2 separate regions of the Homo sapiens genome follow, and region 2 is linked to region 1. Evidence: promoter capture Hi-C in human tissues and cell types (Jung and others, 2019). All regions are on one chromosome and are shown on one strand. The core of a region is centred on a gene start or on the middle of the fragment in contact, and the rest is flanking DNA. Distances in the headings are between cores, read along the strand shown. Region 1 holds the start of KRT33B (keratin 33B). Region 2 holds the start of KRTAP4-2 (keratin associated protein 4-2).

What was found. Contacts are between HindIII fragments. The study calls those that stand out against the background at their distance.
Region 2: the fragment with the promoter of KRTAP4-2 here is called in contact with the fragment with the promoter of KRT33B in region 1 in 2 of the 25 tissues and cell types used here (IMR-90 fibroblasts and heart left ventricle).

Annotation. Positions count from the first base shown.
Region 1 is chr17:41,366,132-41,372,884 of GRCh38, reverse strand. It overlaps KRT33B (keratin 33B), which reads left to right and starts at 3,072. Exons shown (of 7, transcript NM_002279.5): 1 at 3,072-3,482; 2 at 4,895-4,977; 3 at 6,259-6,415. The coding sequence starts at 3,135. The HindIII fragment of the contact is 10,508 bases long and covers 1,673-6,753 here.
Region 2 is chr17:41,173,838-41,180,590 of GRCh38, reverse strand. It overlaps KRTAP4-2 (keratin associated protein 4-2), which reads left to right and starts at 2,370. Exons shown (of 1, transcript NM_033062.4): 1 at 2,370-3,145. The coding sequence starts at 2,427. The coding sequence ends at 2,837. The HindIII fragment of the contact is 21,892 bases long and covers 1-6,753 here.

The sequences.
Region 1 (6,753 bases), core at 1,823-4,322:
CCAGAGCCTGGACATTGGAGAAGATGGCTTTGGGAAGAAGGAGGGAGGCCTCCTAATGCCTTTGAAGTCCCACAATGAGGAAGGTGGCCTCAGCAGAAGCCCCATCCTATGTCCACTCCGTGGTTAAGCATCGCTGGTGGGTTGGCATGTGATCTCTTCTATGGAAATAGCCCGGGCTTCCATAATAAATAGCATCCTTAAACCTCAACTGCAATTTGCTCACATCTTAAGACCAGAAGCCTCAACCATAGCATCTGCCGCTATTACATGGGCATGTATAAAACCTTTCGGTTTGTTAGGATTTGACTTACTTGTCATGTTTAATGAAGGGCCATTGAACAGAGACAATAGCATCACCCATGTAAAGATAAGAATTCACAGTACACAGCAAGTGGAGTAAGTAAAAAGCAATTGCCTTCCAGACTTTGTGAGAAGCTAATTGAAACTTGGCTCTTTTCTCCATAGACCCAAGTTCTTCCAACTATTAGTACATAATGGCCAAGTAGCTGTGCAGAAATTATAGTTACTTCTACTCAAGATGTGGGAATAGTTGTGTTTTCTAAACTCTGACCTCCACTTTTAAAGACACAAGGATACTTATCTCTGGATTATTCCACTGTGACTGAGGTAGAAGCTACAGCAATGGTTATAGGGATCCCTGTGGACATATTTACCAGTCTGTGACACACTATTCCTTCCCTTTTCTTTAAAAAGTGCCATTGTCAGATTTTTCCTTTTGAAGCTTGGGACGTAGAAGAAGGAGAGAAGAACACAAGGTAATTAGAGAAAAGCTAATGAATTCAGCTATTTGCTTTATGTTATTTGATCTCATCCAATAGGACTTTAATGGTTTGGTACTGATTTTAAACCAATATGCCCATGCCACATCTCACTGATAGTGGAATCATTTTAAAGGTAGAGATTCAGGCCGGGTGCAGTGGCTCACTCCTGTAATCCCAGCACTTTGGGAGGCTGAGGCGGGTGGATCACCTGAGGTCAGGAGATTGAGACCAGCCTGCCCAACATAGTGAAACCCTGTCTCTACTAAAAATACAAAAATTAGCCAGGCACATTACAGGTGGTGCACGCCTCTAATCCCAGCTACTAGGGAGGGTGAGACAGGAGAATAGCTTGAACCTGGGAGGCGGAGGTTGCAGTGAGCTGAGATTGCACCACTGCACTGTAGCCTGGGCAATAGAGCAATAGAGTGAGACTCTGTCTCCAAAAAAAAAAAAAAAAAAAAAAAATTAGAGATTCAGGCAGGAGGGGCAGAAAGTTGTGGATTGTGATTGTAGGGGAGGATATCAGTACCTTCAATGCATTCACCCTGGAAGACCACATGTTTGCCCCAAAGCTGCTGTCCTTTATAAAAGCATATTTGAAGCTTCTCCTTGGAAATGACTTCCAGAGTCACCCAAGAAAACACACATTATTATTTTGTAGTCACAACCTGTTTCTGACCCATTAAAGATGCTATGCAGCTTGGTTATTCACCCTATGCACTAGGTGTGGTTTCAAATGACTTCTGGCTGGTTCCAAAAATAAACACACCCATAGAAGATGAAGATTGGCCTTCAATGAGGATAACCAAAAGAATGTGTCCCAAGCTGTGAAGGCAAGTTTGAAGGAAGGGTGATCTGAGGAATGGCAGGTCACCTGTAGGAAAAGAATTCTTGTATGGCAAGACTTAATATGTAGCTTCCAAAAGGAACAACTTGGAGGAGTATCTTTCAGAATTTGAGCACTGATAGATTAAACATAAAATCCTCATATTTCATAGTTCCATCTGGAATGCATGAGAGTAGAGCATCTGCTTGCCAAAATGTGCCAATGGTCATAAAATGCCACTTCATGCACATGACATAGTGGTGGATTTTCAGGGTCATATCCTTTGGAGAGCTAGGCTTGGGTATTTCTCCCTCAGATCAACCAAGGGTTTCCTTTTTTTTTTTTTTTCAAGCTTCTAGTGGGTATGAGGCATTTTCACTTAGTAAACTTCCTTCCTTCAGCATAGAAGTGACTTTTGGTTCTTTAATAAGTAAAAAACAGGCTTGTTATTTTTTGGCCCATTCTAATTTAGGATATTGTCAGCACTGATTGAGCTCAATGGAGCTCAATCTGTATTTTTTGCATTATTGCATCTCAGTACTGAAAAGATTGGAAGAGAGAGACATGTAATATGACAGAGTGTGGACATTGGAATTAGAGAGATCTGTATTTGAACCCTGGCTCCATCATGTAGGAGCTCTGTGACCTTGGGAGACCTCTCAGAGGCTTAGGGTCCTTATCTACAAACCCTTGCAGCATTTTGAGAGGACTGAAGGAGCTGGTGCATATGAGGTGCCTGGCACTGTGCCTGGTGCACAGTGGAGGCTCAGCAAGCAGGACCCATCACCAATGACAGAGTCACGCTGTGCACAGGCATGGAGCACAGTGCTTCATGCAGAGTAGGTGCTCCCAAAATTTAGGTTTCTTAATGTTCTGTGAACACTGAATACTAGTAGAAACGGAGGTGGGTGGCTTCCTGCAGCCCCATAGGAAGAGGGTAGAGTTGCCTCCATCTGCCTGGATGGAACTGCAAATGGGCCTTGAACCAATGGCCTTGTAAGTCCTTTCTCATTTCAGCTTCCAGGATTCCCTATCACATAGTCTAGTTTCTAGACGGGTTTCCTTACATGGCTTTTCTCACAGAGTCTTAATTGAATATGAACTGGATGAGACACAAGCCTTTCCTCATTTAGGAGAAAGAGGCACATATGTGCCCCCTACTCTGGGGACAGGGCCCAGCTGTCACTCTAGCTCAATGTCCCATGGATAAGCACTGCTACAGGCAAGGTTGGTCACTTTGAAGCCAAACCATGAAGCTCTTACTTAACCAATCAGCATGTTTTGTGAGGAGTCCTGACTTAGCAAGAAGCCAGAGTAAAACATTTAATGAGGTATAGGACTCAGGTGAAGTGGCTAAATAACAAATGGAAAAATCAGCAAAGGAGGTAAAAAGGAGGAATACTTGACATGGTTGCCACACCCACTGCTAACAGAATATAAAGCCCTGGAAAGGACCAAGGCTTATCCCAGGGAAAAGGAATCAGGTTTTGAAACTGACTTCCAGAGCTCCACTGCCTCCCTGCACCATGCCCTACAACTTCTGCCTGCCCAGCCTGAGCTGCCGCACCAGCTGCTCCTCCCGGCCCTGTGTGCCCCCCAGCTGCCACGGCTACACCCTGCCCGGGGCCTGCAACATCCCTGCCAATGTGAGCAACTGCAACTGGTTCTGCGAGGGCTCCTTCAATGGCAGCGAGAAGGAGACTATGCAGTTCCTGAACGACCGCCTGGCCAGCTACCTGGAGAAGGTGCGTCAGCTGGAGCGGGACAACGCGGAGCTGGAGAACCTCATCCGGGAGCGGTCTCAGCAGCAGGAGCCCTTGCTGTGCCCCAGCTACCAGTCCTACTTCAAGACCATTGAGGAGCTCCAGCAGAAGGTGAGGAGGTGGGCACCACACTGCCAGCTTAATGAACTACTTATCTATATTTGACATACTAAACTGTGAATGGATCTAAGTCTGTTCACAGTAATGCTGAGAATGATAAAGACATAGATTCACTGGCTTAGGTATGACATCAAGTAGTCTTAGAAAATCTGTTGTAGAGCCACAAAGGAAGGATGCAGGCTGGTGTTAGAGTGAAGCATTAGACCAAAATCAGTCATAGCAATCTTATATGGCGTCTTACTCCAAACCAGAATATCTGATTTTTTGGTTTGATTATGATACCCTGGTTTTGTTTTCAGAGCATTACCGCATTTTCAAAAAGTATGCACCTGAATTATTTTCTATGCTAAGAATTTCCTAAGTAAATCTTCAAATATTTAAAGCCTTTCAAAGCTGTAGCAAAATATAGCATTTATGGCAACACAAGAGAGCTGTTGACTCCAGCAATATCTACAGACACATGGACCATCCTCTAGAGCAGCCATGTGTACAGATGACAATATGGGGCCATCTGTTCTGGAAGAGAAGTAGATATAAGTAAAGAGTCCACAGAGAATTGGGACTGAATACCTGGTGTAGGTTTGGGAGGGATCCCAGAAGAGGCAATGTCTGAGTGGGGTTTGAAGGATGAGTGGGAGTTTATATCCAATTGTACAAGCCCTTGATTCTGGGAGGGAATTGACTGCCCACTGTTCTGTAGATCTGGAAAATTAGATGCCAGAAAGGGGTTGTGCTATTTGAATATCATTCATTTATTTACCCAGAGTTGGAGAGTGTTAGGCACAGTGCTGGGGTGGGGGATAATGTACTGAGTAAGACAGTCTCCTTCCTTCAGGAGCTCACAGTCTAACAGGGGAGATAGATGTGGAAACAAAATGATCACACAAAGGTCATAAGAAGTGTTATTGATTAAGTATGTGGGTTACACAAGGGGTCTTGCTAGTGGGTGAGGGCATTCTGGGTACAGCAAGAAGCTTTTTGCAAAGGCATGAACAAGGGCAATATGAGGGGAGAGTGGAGAGAAGTTAGCAGGTGGAATGTGTTGGATAACCAAGTTGTTCTGGCTTGCCTGGGATTTTTCCCATTTTAGCATCCCAGAAACCCCTCAGTCCTAAGTTAACTGGGATGGTTGGTCACCCAACCGAAGGGTTGGATACCCAGTAACCTAATTATTGCAGGAAGCCAGAAGCAGATAAGAATAGAATTCATGATGAATTCACATTGGTTGTCCTGGTTTTGAAATGATCAGTTTTATGATCAAATCCTCCTTTTATCTCAGAGCTGAAAATCTGAAAGGACTCAAAGCTATTTGGGAGGAATGTGGCTGAAAGAAAATAGCATTTCACTTTAAGGCACAAGGCATTTCTTAGTATAACCCATTTCATGATTAATCCTATCCCCAGATCCTGTGCAGCAAGTCTGAGAATGCCAGGCTGGTGGTGCAGATCGACAATGCCAAGCTGGCTGCAGATGACTTCAGAACCAAGTAAGATTTTCCTAACCATCAGAGCAGTCTAGTAACGGACAGGCTGAATTACAAAGTGATGAGCTCCCTATCCTGGAATGTGGAAGCAGAAATTTCTATTGGGAGGATTCTTGCATTGGGTTAGGATTAGGTTAAATGTCAAAGCCTCTTCAATAGGTGCTCAGATTCTGTGTTTTAAGTTTTTTTTTTTAATTTTTTTATTTTGAGATGGAGTCTCCCTCTCTCATCCAGGCTGGAGTGCAGTGATGCAATCTTGGCTCACTGCAACCTCCGCCTCCCGGATTCAAGTGATTTTCCTGCCTCAGCCTTCCTCGTAGCTGGGATTACAGGCATGCGCCAGCAGGCCCAGCTAATTTTTATATTTTTAGTGGAGACCGGGTTTTACCATGTTGGTCAGGCTGGTCTTGAACTCCTGACCTCAAGTGATCCACCCGCCTCAGCCTCCCAAACTGCTGGGATTACAGGCGTGAGCCACTGTGCGCAGCCCTGTGCTTTAAGTTTGATTGTAAGACACCATCCATTCTTACTCCTTTTCAACCCAACGTCTGGAGTAAGTTTGAAAGTGATTTTCACATTGGTCTCTTTGTATACGTTAGTCACTGTCAACCCCCCAAAAAGAAGTTATTAAACCACAAAAACAGGAGGCAAAATCCATTGCCTTTCAGAGAATCAATCAATACTTTTAGGTATGACCATTATTACAATCATGAGAATCCTTTGCATTTTCCTGGGATCTTACATTTTACAACATAATTTTACATATATCATCTTCAGTCCAACCCTATAAGGTGTTAGTTTTGTCTTCATTTTACAGTTAAGGAAATCAAGCCTCAGAGAGATAAAGGTATCTATCTACAGTCATTTAATGAGAATACTGGCTCTAACTCTGAATTCAGTGTTTCTTCCACAACACTAGATTGCTTCTTGGCAAGGCTGGAAAGGATGACAGGACAACCTGGAGCAGGCTTATGAAGGGCACTGATTCACTTGAGATGGCAAAAGCAGCAGGGCTTAGTTGATAGTAACTTGTAAACGAGAGTCTTAGAACAAACTTAGTTTGTGTTAGACTAAACTATCCACAGGCATTCCACCAATACCTTTTCTGTGTGTCTCAGTGACAAAATAGGCCTTCTCACTCAGTACAGGAGTATTTTCTCCCTTAATTTTTTAAATTCAAAATATTTCAAAATATAATAAAATTGACTAAGTCAGCCAAGTAAAGGCCGGGAAACAAAGACTTTTTTTTTTTGGACCTCTTTTGACCTCTGGCTGTGTGTGCAGGTACCAGACGGAGCAGTCCCTGCGGCAGCTGGTGGAGTCCGACATCAACAGCCTGCGCAGGATTCTGGATGAGCTGACCCTGTGCAGGTCTGACCTGGAGGCCCAGATGGAGTCCCTGAAGGAGGAGCTGCTGTCCCTCAAGCAGAACCATGAGCAGGTAAGAGTCCCAGCCCCCAATATCCCAATACTGAGAGCTCTGTGATCCCCCTGAATAGGATAAGGTAGGATTTGATTTGCTAAGCACCCTAGGCCTAACAACATTTTGCTGGTTGCTCAAAACATACTTTGGGGCTTGTTGGGGAATGAGTGACAGCTTACCTTTTTTACATAAAGGAGTGTGGTAAGCTGACCTACTTCCCCTTGGGACCAGACATGTATGGCTGAAAGGTCACACAAATATCTTTAAACTACTGTCTACTGTTTGATGCTATCTATTAGCTTCTGAAGAGGTGCCAGGTAGGTTAATGACCAAGACTGGAAGGAGATAGAAAACAT
Region 2 (6,753 bases), core at 1,121-3,620, 190 kb after region 1:
CACACACACACTGAAATGTTATTAGCCATGAAATGAAGAAAATCCTGTCATTTGGGACAACATGGATGGACTTTGAGGACATTATGCTAAGTGAAGTAGGTCAGACAATGAAAGACAAATAATCTCATTTACATGTGGAATCTAAAAACTCATAGAAACAGAGGGTAGAATGGTGATTGTCAAAGGTTGTGGATGGAGGAAATGAGGAAATGTTGGTCAAAGGGAGAAAATATTCATTTATAAGAAGAATAGGTTCTGAGGATCTAATGTACAGCATGGTCACTGTAGTTAATTACACTGTATTGTATATTTAAAATTTGCTGAAAGACTAGATCTAAAATGTTCTCACTACACACACTCAAAAAATGGTAACTATGTGAAGTGGTGGAGGTGAACTAATTTGATCATGACAATAATTTCACAATATATACATATCAGAGCATCAGGGTGTACACCTTATATACATACAATTTTATATTTCAATTATAGCTGAGTAGAGGTAGAAAAAATGAAATTGTTAAAGTACTAGAAGAAATCGTGAGAGATTCCTAAATATAATGTAAATTTATCTTAAGGAAAACACACACACACACACACACACTCACACACACTCACATCATGAAGAAAAATAGTTAATATAAAGTGATCTCTACTGAATCATCAGCAGGCACCAATCGTCACGGCTTCTCAAGGGCACGATTCTTTTCCAGAATACAAGGTCTCCTGGAAATCTTAGAGTTGTTCTCGTACACCACCATGGGGCTCACAGGGTCTTAATTCCACAGCATCATGGAACCCACTTTCATCCCTCAATAAAATATGATGTCTGGGTACATCAGAGCCAGAGAACAGTGCAGGCTCAGAACACCAGCCAGCGCACCAAGCAGGGGTTCACTTGGGAGCCCAAGTTGTTTTCATTCTGCTTGAATCACCTGGAAATTAGGGCCAGGGCAGGAGTAGGAACTGGCTTGGAACATAGCAGCATCATAAGAACACCACAATTTGATTTATTAGACTTATAAGCACCTGAGAGAAGAAAGGGAATCTCCCTCATTCATCCAATCCCCTCCATCTGGTTCTTGGATCTCCCTCAGAAACACCAGCTTACACTGAAACTCCTCCCCTGATTATCTGCAGAGGCTGCCCAGTTCATAAAACATTTCTATCATGGTAAGTCAGACATTTTTCCACCCCCTTCCCTGGGTTCCTTGACTCCTCAGGGGTGGGGAAATACATATATATTTATTAACTGATGAGTTAATGAATTGACAACATAGCACATTTTTGAAACAATAGTCAGCCATCCCTACATGAAAAAATATAGGCTGATATCCTTTGTTCTTGATACCTGTTTTCTGCTTTCTTTCTCTCTTTATTGATTTATTTTTTGAAAACAAAGATGTAAAGTGTGAAATTGGATCAACAACTTCTATAAGGAAGCAGCAGAGTATAGGACATCTTCAAGGCCCAGCAATTCAGCAGAGAAAGCAAGAGGGCTGGGAGCGAATTAGAGCAAGCAAAGGATACTGAGTCATCTAATTTGGGTTGGCCAGAAAATTTTGGAACCTGGAGAGATGAGCTCATGTGCCCTGTTAGAGCTAGGAAGGCAGAAAGGCAAAGTCACAAGGAAAATCTGCCCCAGGGAGCAAAAAAATGAGGGACTTGGACCTTTAAGTATAGCTGTTCTCTGAAGCCAACATTCCCCAAGAGGCCCTGAATCTGAATTTTGGAGGGTTGTTTCTGTAGAAAAGGAAACATCAAACTTTCACAGCTTAGTTTTCCACCTTAAAACAGCTCTGTATTTCTCATCAGAAGGTCTAGAAAATGGGTCACAATTCAGAGTGCGGAAGATAAAAAAGCGATAGGTCCTACGGTGTTCTCGTTCTCACACCAGTGGTCATCTGTTTCACACTGAAATCTGTTTCACACTGAAACCTTCACAGGCCATCTGACCCATAATGAAGGAGCCATCAGACTGAAATGCAGCTTTATCCTCCTGAGTCACCAGAAAGAGTCAAGGGCCTGTAAGAATAGTAATCACCCAAGAGTAGTCATGATGTGTTAAGCAAATGAGACTGAAGCACATAGTATGTGCTTACAGGCAGATGTCACATGGCTGCTCTAGGAGGAAGCTATAGTAAGAGAGACACAGGAGGTGGTTCAGGAAGAGCTGAGCTAAGGAGTCCTAACACATTAGGGAAAGGAGACAGTGTTTCCATCTATGTGGATAAGTTAACCAGAACAACAAACTTGCCTAATTTGATAATTGCCTACATATCAGGACAAATAATAACAAGGAAAGAGTGTTGCATCTGATGACATCAGGCCTTAGCAGGGTATAAAAGAGGATCTGGGGCAAGGAAACTTCCAAACCTTCCAAACCCACCTTCCTGGAAATCCACCCAGAACCTCCACCCTCTGACACCATGGTCAACTCCTGTTGTGGCTCTGTGTGCTCTGACCAGGGCTGTGGCCTAGAGAACTGCTGCCGTCCCAGCTGCTGCCAGACCACCTGCTGCAGGACCACCTGCTGCCGCCCCAGCTGCTGTGTGTCCAGCTGCTGCAGACCGCAGTGCTGCCAGTCTGTGTGCTGCCAGCCCACCTGCTGCAGCCCCAGCTGCTGCCAGACCACTTGCTGCAGGACCACCTGCTGCCGTCCCAGCTGCTGTGTGTCCAGCTGCTTCAGACCCCAGTGCTGCCAGTCTGTGTACTGCCAGCCCACCTGCTGCCGCCCCAGCTGTGGCCAGACCACCTGCTGCAGGACCACCTGCTACCGCCCCAGCTGCTGTGTGTCCACCTGCTGCCGCCCAACCTGCTCTAGTGGCTCTTGCTGCTGATGCCCTCACCTATACTCACCTGCCTTTATTAACCAGCATTCTTGATATGATCCACCTGTGAACTGAATCATGCAAGGCCAATTGGACAACCTCAGTTCCAACCAATTCTTGGATTGAGTTTGGCCTCCAAATATGCTCACCAAACACTATGTTGCTACCCTCTACCAAATGAATACAAGTTTGAATTTTCTCTGAAATATGTCAACCCCATGTTCCCTGAATTGAAATATTTGCTCTCTACCATAATTTATCACATGGAGCTATTCCTCTATCTTAAATAAATTTTAATTTTTGAGGCATACAAATAATATACGGGCATTGTGTCTCATTTTTCCTTCTTGAATTCTCATCCTTACCTGTCAAATTTTCTGATGTTCTTCCCTGCAGAGGGAGAAGACCACAGCAGATGATATCAGGGGCTCCACCTCTATCCTATCAGCACTCTCCATTCAAACATAGGAAAATGGTTCCTTAGAGCAGGCACCTGGAACTCTCTACCTGAGGACTTTCTCTGGATAAAGGAGCAAACTCTGGGCTGGAGACTTAAAGCCTCTAGGAACAGCACTCAGAGAATGAGTGGGAGTTGGTAATATATGCCCTGGCTTGTTTCCCTCCAGTGGGGGGTATGTCAAACCAGTCTTCCAGAGGTCTTCAGCGGGATTTATACCAGATGCCTGCAGGAACATTCTGATCATGAACTCACTCTATAATGACTTTCCCTCCTTCCCAGGGTCATTCTTCAAGTTTCCTCCAGTGTTTCTTGGGTTAATCGTCCAAATATACCACATGTTCTCAGATCCTCTTTTGTGGGTTTGCCCCAGAGAGCACACAATCTAAAACAGCAGCATTCCTAATCTCAGTATTAGTGTCCTTCAAAATGTTTTTGTACAATATGAATGGTTACCATAGATTTTGATCAACTCTTGAGTTTACTGTCACCTGAATGGACACCTCTGAACATTTTGCTGTTTTTTTTCTTTTCAATTTTTGCGCATTACAATTTTTTTCTATTATTTGTTCATTTACTTTTTTGGTCTTCTTTTAAGAATTTTAATTTTTAAAGTTTTTATTTCAATATGCATGTTTGCTTTTAAACTAGTTGTCTTTGATTGTTTTTTTCTTCACATCGTTTTATCTGAGGGATAGGACACAACCACCGTGTTGGTGATTCTCATCCTAAAAAAGGCTATATTGAAAAAGGTTTCACCCTGAGCCATGCTGCTAAGTTGGAGGCACCAAAGAAAGATCTAAAACAGGATGTTTGCACAAGTGACTTTTATAAGAAAATGCTCTCAGGAGAAATCAGTAAGGAAATGTCGGAAACAGAATAGGATTGTAGAAGAGGCTAAGCCCAAAAGGATTTTATTGTCATTTGACCCCACAGGAAGCTCTAGAGTGTGAATGGTATTACAGACCCATCTTTCTGAGAGGTAAGGTCGTTGGAACTTTACAATCCTACATCAGTTACCACTAGCTATGGCCCACCCTGTGGGAGAGGAAGAGGATGCGAAGAGGGCGGAATCCTCCAGATGAGGTGGCTCCTGTAAGCTGAGGACAACTATCTGGAGAAGTGTGCAGGTGAACAAAGGGAGCTGCTGGCTGTCCTACTTACACTAGCTTGGGGATGGGGGTATCTTTCTGGTAAATGGGATCAGGATAGGGAGCCCTGTAGTCCACCTCTGGCACTGCTCAGCTGCAGCTGTTTCTCTCATTAGGCTCACTCCAACTGGTTGGTCACAGTTTCTAGAGAAACGTATGAGAGGAGGGGTCATGGGCACCCCTGCTTCTGGTCTAGGTCACTTGCTTGGTAGGGTAACCCGAGTCCTCATCCTGAGAGCTCTAAGCCTTGGTTACTGTGTCCTTATCAGGCTTGAGCCCTTGAACTTGCTCATATGCAGTCAAGGCTGGAAGTAGAAGCACCAAGCATGTCCCAGAGGATCACTTAAGTGCTAAATATATTCCTCCCTGTCCCCATTGGCATAGCAGTGGTCCTACTTCCTCATGATGATGAGGCCAATTGCCTGTGGCAACAGCCCTTTTCTTTATGTGCTTTTCTCCAGCCAAAGTGATAAGGTAACAACCATAGCTTTAATTCCAATCAAATCCTTACTATGCCCCCTGGAGGTGGCTCCTCCCTTCTTGGAGCCAGGACCTCTCCATAAAACTTACAGTTATTTGGGAGGGAGCACAAATTCCCTCAAGTGGCTCACAGGGCATGAAGGTGAGTGAGCAACTCCTCTGTCCACACTTTGGTTTTCTGTATTAATGTATTTTACCTGTTGTGGACACAGTACCATGTGATGGTGATTGGTGTAATAATTCTTACTGCATCCTGAAGAACAGCGCTCCACCTCACAGGGTGTCATCTCCAAGCTGAGACCTCCATTATGGCTTCAAGAGGTGGTTGCATCACACTATCCGTTCAGCTGTTTCTGGATGGTGCAGCATAAAGTATACTGTGGGTAACAGAGTATCTACAGTTACCTGCCCATTGCCACACACCTTGTGCTCCATATGGGGTTGATCAGTCAAAGGTGAAGTTAGGTAGGATTCCACACTGCCACAACAAGTTCTCTTGGGCCCCCATATAACGGTGCTGGCTGAGGCACTGCAAGCAGAAAATGCAAGCCCATCGCCTGACTGTATGTCAATTCCATCAGCAGCAAGTAACTGGCTGATCCTCTCATAGGATGGTACCTTACGAGGGACTCAGGGCCACTCTCTTGCTGGCAGGTCGGATGTTCAGCAGTGGTGTCCTGGTATGCTGTAGACAGGATGCTTAAAAATATTACCAGTGTGGCAGCCTCTGGAATCCTTTTCTCTTCTCTTCTAGAGCACATGGATCCTTAGCAAGGTCTCCACAGTATTCACATTTTGTGTTCATCAAATCTGATTCACATGACATTATCAATATTGTGGATCAGCATGCTGTATTGTAGGATGCTCACAATGCCTAGATCTTTTGCGACTATACTGTGACAAAGATCAGGAGAATTACCATATCCCTAGTTCAGCACAGAGTGTTAACACCACTGTCTGTTCCAGGTGAAATGGATTCACTTCTGATGCTGCTTCCTGGTGGTTATTGAAAAGGACACATTTGCCAGTTTGGTTGCCATACACCCCATATTGGAGACTGTGTTCATTTGTCCCAGAAATGATTCTACATGCATCAATCACATTGGCTATAATTAGATTTTTATTTGACAGAGTTTGTGTTCATCCACTGTCATCTGCCATGATCTATGTGGTTTTTGTTGGGTCTGAACTAGTGAATCATATGAAGGTGGTATTCACCTCTCCTGCATTTGTAAGCCTTGAATATGTCTCTAATTTCTTGCTTCTATCCACTCACTTGCGTGGAGAATGTGTGAGAGGTCCCAAGCAATGTCACGAGCTCCCATTGGGCCTTTCCTATTGTAATAATTCTTACTCCATAGGTCAAGGAATGTTATTGGTGAACTCTACATTGGAGAACTGGGTAAATGACCACATGAGGGTCTGTGCACCCTGTGAAACTACTATAAGACTAATCCGGATCAAGACTCCATTTATTTTCCGACCATCATTATGAGATCCTAATGGGGTTTGTGTTCACATTTTGGGTTTCCAACTGTCAATGTCAACTCAGATCTGGTATCGAACAGGATCCAAATGCATGGGGATTCCACTTTCCCCTGAGAAGATGGCTGCGGGTATTTATGGGAAAGGACTAGTGAGGCTACTATTTGCTGTGACCCCGTTTTTGGGAGGACTGGCCTCTCCTTCAGTTGATAAATTCTAGGTCCAATAATCAACTCACATCTGGAAACTGGATAAAGGATTATGAATTTCCATTGGAGCAACTTATCTTTTTGCTTGTTTAATCTTAAGCTGTTGAAATATACATATACACAGGTGGAGATACAGATATACA